2 separate regions of the Homo sapiens genome follow, and region 1 is linked to region 2. Evidence: promoter capture Hi-C in human tissues and cell types (Jung and others, 2019). All regions are on one chromosome and are shown on one strand. The core of a region is centred on a gene start or on the middle of the fragment in contact, and the rest is flanking DNA. Distances in the headings are between cores, read along the strand shown. Region 1 holds the start of ADAM7-AS2 (ADAM7 antisense RNA 2). Region 2 holds the start of ADAM7 (ADAM metallopeptidase domain 7).

What was found. The method cuts DNA at HindIII sites, captures the fragments that hold promoters and counts their contacts. A contact is called where the count stands out against the background at its distance.
Region 1: a contact is called between a fragment that was not itself captured here and the fragment with the promoter of ADAM7 in region 2, in 2 of the 25 tissues and cell types used here (H1 embryonic stem cells and dorsolateral prefrontal cortex).

The regions. Positions count from the first base shown.
Region 1 is chr8:24,513,165-24,515,864 of GRCh38, reverse strand. The region is part of intron 1 of ADAM7-AS1 (ADAM7, ADAMDEC1 and ADAM28 antisense RNA 1); the gene reads left to right. It overlaps ADAM7-AS2 (ADAM7 antisense RNA 2), which reads left to right and starts at 997. Exons shown (of 5, transcript NR_125809.1): 1 at 997-1,079; 2 at 1,201-1,290. The HindIII fragment of the contact is 4,644 bases long and covers 1-2,700 here.
Region 2 is chr8:24,439,719-24,442,418 of GRCh38, reverse strand. It overlaps ADAM7 (ADAM metallopeptidase domain 7), which reads right to left and starts at 1,393. Exons shown (of 22, transcript NM_003817.4): 1 at 1,259-1,393. The coding sequence starts at 1,310. All of the region lies in intron 1 of ADAM7-AS1 (ADAM7, ADAMDEC1 and ADAM28 antisense RNA 1), which reads left to right. The HindIII fragment of the contact is 5,540 bases long and covers 1-2,700 here.

The DNA of each region.
Region 1 (2,700 bases), core at 116-2,615, 73 kb before region 2:
AGCTACTCAGGAGGCTGAGGCAAGAGAATTACTTGAACCCAGGAGGCAGATGTTGCAGTGAGCCGAGATCATGCCCCTGCTCTTCAGCCTGGGCCATGTAGCAAGACCTTGTCTCAAACAACAACAGATAACCACAGCATAGAATATCCAATGCAGCCTGTCTTTAATGTCCTCTCATACCATGCTTTCCTATATACCTCATGATATAACTACACTAACCTACTTTCTGTGATCAGACCTACCAAACTCAGGTATGCTTAGACTCGCTGCTTCTCCCTGGAATGTTAATTCTCTGCTTGGCAAACCCTTGTACCTTTGTTAAGACCTTGATTAAAAGTTACCTCTCTGACGCCTTCTCCATTCCAACAAGCATTAGAAGCCTCCTCTTCATTCCCCTGGGCAATTTCACCTACTGCCTTCCTCTTTGGTGCCATGTATCACATTAATTTATTTTTCTAATTTTTTTCCAGAATTTCATTTTTCATGTATATGTGGCAATGTATTTTATTTTTAAACTTTTAATTTTTAATTGTTGTGGGTACAGAGTAGGTATATATATTCAGAGGATACATGAGATGTTTTGATACAGACATCACATAATTTATGACCATCCATTTAGAAGCCTGTTTTGCTTGCTCACAAAGCTTGGTTTTCTCAGGGCAGGGCTGTGTACACCTACATATCTACATGTCCCTAGAATAATACCTCTAACACAGCCAGTATGCGATGAGTACATGTTGAACAAAGACGTTAATGGATAAGTAAATAGAACCTACATGGCATCAGTCCACATTCGTTTTTTACTTTTCTAAGTTTTTTCCCCTCTGAAATCTGTAAGTGTGCTTAATCTCTGCCTCTGCTTTTTTGTTATTGTTTCTGTTTAGAGGAGTCACAGAGGGATCCTAGTGAAGAGGATTATAACTTTGCCTGTTTTGTGATGCGGAGGTGATGTCATGTTGTTCTACCATTTTATCATTGTTCCTTCTGAGCCTGAGTGTTCTTTCTCTTGAAGATTCAAGTGAACCAGGGAAGGAGAATGACATCAGACTGGGCTTGTGCCTGATAATTCATTTCTGAAGGTGCAATATTAAGTGTCACAGTGTCCAGCTGGTGATATTTTCAGCATAGAAACCTGTTAGACACGGCAGCATTAAGGAGATGGAATGAATTGATTTATTTCTCTTCTGAATTGCTTGGCAGTGCTTCAAGATTGACGCATCAGATTTGCACAATGTGCCACTTTAGGAGATTATTTCTTCCTTCCTTCAGCCAGACAGAAGACTGCAGTAGGTAATGATAGCTTAAACTTGGGAAATGTCCTTCTTCAGAGACAGCGTCACGGACATTTTGGAGAGGATCAGATTACTCTACAGCTGCTTTCCCTGGTGGACCTGAGGAGGCACACCCCTGAGCCAGGACTTTAAGGGAGAGGGTAGAACAACCTAGAAGCTCAGAAGGTCACTCCAACTATTATCTTCCCTTCTGTGACTTATTGACATACACTTTGATATCAAGGCACTGATGCTGATAACGTGAGAGAAAGGAATAGATTAATTATGGGATGAGGAGTATTTTAAATGCTAAAGGCTTTGTCTAAAATAATTCACATTTTTCCATCCAGTGGTTCCTCTCTTTGAATCCTGTTAGAATGACAGTAGATCTTTTAATTCTTTCCCCACTTTAGGCATGACTTTGAAGAACCTGAAGATGTGAAAATGAAATGGATACTGTGCTCCTTTTGGCTAGGATTGGGGAGGGCCCACTAACTGATCTCTACTACCCAGCCCCTTTCAACATCAAAGCTACTTTTTTTTTTTTTTTGAGACAAAGTCTGGCCCTGTCGCCAGGCTGGAGTGCAGTGGTGCAGTCTCAGCTCACTGCAACCTCTGCCTCCTGGATTCAAGGGATTCCCCTGCCTCAGCCTCCCGAGCAGCTGGGACTACAGGTGCATGCCACCATGCCTGGCTAATTTTTTGTATTTTAGTAGAGACGGGATTTCACTTTGTTGGCCAGGATGGTCTCAATCCAAAGCTACTTTTAGCAGGATTGAACTCTGAGGTCATCCAGTGGCCAGTTGTGATGCTGTCACTTTTAAAACTGGAATGAGTTACTGTTCGGATGGTGGCTTTGGTCTGAGGCCTGTGATTCCTGTTTTGCCATTTCTTGGCTGTGTGTTTGAGGACCTCTTAATCCCTAGCCTCCTCATTTGTAAAATAATCCTTCCCATGGACCTTGTGCATTTCATGGAAATGCAGTAGTATGGGGTCTGGAAGATTCTTTGTAGGCATTCTACCTTTCCCTATGTGTTCCAAGTGACCCTCATCTGGTGCATTCTTCATTTGATTAAAGCAAGGAAGGAAGCTTTAGCAGAGGGCTGTTATCTCTTGATTGGCCGCTGCCATCCCCTGACCCACCGTCTTCCCTTTTATGCACAGTGATGGCAGAGACAGCAACAGACAGCTTGCCCAAACACACTAAGCTGAATTAAAGCACCACCCAAGTAGAGGTCTATTCTATTAAGAAGGGATCATCCAGAAATTGAGGTCACTATAACACAAGGGAAAGATTCAAGGATCCCAAAGTGTCTGCTAGGAAGTGGCCAATGAGGGCTTCAAAGAGTGTTTAAGTTTTAGTCCATCCCCAAATACAGTTCTTCCTTGGACAAAAACATCTCAGCCATGCTCTGGCTGAATTGGGAGG
Region 2 (2,700 bases), core at 144-2,643:
CGGCTGAAAAACAGAATTGTTCTAATACAGTTCATTTGCCCCCAGTTAGCAGCCATGGACAGCAACACTATGAAATGTTATTCCCACTTTACTGGCAAGGAAATTGACACTGATATTTACAAATCAGGAGAATATAAGGAAACTTGGAAAGGAGCCAAAGAAATCAGTGTCCCTCCATTTCCTCCATATTTTCGCCATGTTCTGCAGCTGTAATTTTATTTTTTGTTTCATTTATTTATTTTTTTGAGACAGAGTCTCGCTCTGTCAGCCAGGCTGGAGTGTAGTGGCGTGATCTCGGCTCACTGCAACCTCCGCCTCCCCGGTTCAAGCGATTCTTCCACCTCAGCCTCCCAAGTAGCTGGGATTACAAGTGCACACCACCATGCCTGGCTAATTTTTGTATTTTTAGTAGAGACGGGGTTTCACCATGTTGGCCAGGCTAGTCTCAAACTCCTGACCTCAGGTGATCCACCTGCCTCAGCCTCCCAAAGTGCTGGGATTACAGGCATGAGCCACCATGTCTGGCCTGCAGTTGTCGTTTTGTTATCCTCATGCCAACCTCTGGATTTTGTCTCCTGTCAAAGCCTGCACTGTTGTCCTGTTTGAATGTAAATTACTGAATTTGGTCTTCCAGGGATGTTTGCATTTAAAGTCTTACCTTTCGTAGTTAAGTATAAGACCTTTACCTGTTAAAGAATTTTGGGTAGCCCTGCATCAGTGCCAACCATAATCTTCTATTCATGTCCTATCACCTTGATAGTCATCTGTGAGATGAGCCCTGCTTAATTAAGGTGTGATACTTAAAGAGCAATAAAAAGGAGAGGGCATGGGGTTTCTGGAATATGCTCTGATTTGAATCAAGCCTTTACCAATTTATTGTGTGGCCAGCAGTAGCATATTTAATTTCTCTGATCTGTAAATAGTCTCATTTTCCTTATCTGTAAAGTGGAGATATTAATTTCAAATTTTAAACACTTTAACATACAAAGCAGCTAATGGCCAGCACAGTGCCTGCCATGCTGCAGATATGCAGTACTTGTCCACTCCTTTCTCCTCCTCACTGTGGGTCAGAATGTTCAAGAGTGATATGGCATTACACAGATGCATGGAGTCTCATGATTAGCTGTAATCTAGTCGAAGCTCTCAGAAAAATCATCAACGTTTAATGTTTTTATCACTTACAGTTTAAAGTTTGTGACTAAAGAGACACAACCTCACAGCATAATAAGAAAGTCCTGATAAAAAGAGCAAGACATACCTTTAACCTGAGGAATGAGTAAAATCATCAAGAATATACACCCGGGAAGCATTCTGAGTGATTCTGGTAGAGGAGAGCAGAAGTGCTTGAGAAAAGGAGTTCACCTTTCTTCCTCCTCACTTCCACTGCAGGGATGAAGCACCTCACAGATAGGTGGGCAGTTTTGATCCACAACAAGGAAGTGTTCCTTGAGGGAGTTACACAACTTGCTAGGTGCTTGAGGCTAAAACCTGGAGGTTGAACATCATGTTCTAATTAAAGACAACTACCGAGGTGGTGGTGGTGAAGGTTGGCTGGACATAGATTCCTACGTCATGTCTAATATAAATTTGATTCCAGATATCTGAAAACTTCAAAAGTGGAAAAAAATCAAGAATGTCTTAGGAAAAAAATGTTGAAAAATATTTATATATGCTTTGGTTGAAGATGGTTAAATTCTTTCTATGCAGAGTATGCCATATAAAAACTAAAAGGAACATTTGTTAAATGAGAAATATTGAAAATTTATATGGCATAAATCACATATTAAAATTAAAATATCCAAACTACAGAAATGTATGTAATAAATAAATAAAAGGTGGGAGTAAGTGTCCATATAATATAGAGCCCTTTCAAAGCAATACAAAAAAGAATACCAATGGACAGATGTGCAAAGGGCCTCGACAATTCCATCTGTATGTCTGTGTTCTCTTGTTATGTTAGTAGAGTTATCCCATGGCCAATAGAATCCTTTTATCTTCATTTGGGATTCTATTTCTCACCCGCATCTATATGTCTCTAATATTTCCACAAACTGAACGAATCTATGTCAATTGGAAGCTTCCTTTTGATATTTAGACCCTCTGCTCCAAGGACGACTTTTTCTACAAGGAAACATAAGAGGAAAAATCCATCTGACATTAATATTCATCCATTGTGGTTGAAAAACAGAATTGTCCTCATACAGTTCACTTGCTCCCAGTTAGCAGCCATGTATAGCAGCATTATAAAATATAATCCCCACTTTGCAGGTGGGGAAATTGACACTGATATTTACAAATTGGGAAAACATAAGCAAACTTGGAAAGGAGGCAGAGAAATCGGAGTCCCTTGGCTTAAAACGGGGGTACCATTTTAAGTCAAGTCAAAAGTCTCTCCTTTTTGAAAAATTCTCTCTATTCTATATCTCATATACTCTTACTATCACTTTTTCTCCCATTTCCTTTACAGCTAAATTTCTAACACAGTATTACCTGGACTTCTTGCAATTTTCTTACCTCAAACTTATCCTACCACATCCCAGTTCTAGCATCTGCCTTTATTATTCTACTGAAATGGCCAATATCTCCAGTGATTTTACCATTTCTATATCCAAGAGATATTTTGTTTCCTCATCTCATTTGCCCTTTTAACAATTTTTAGCACTGTTGACCACATCCTTCCCCTTGAAATATACTATTTAG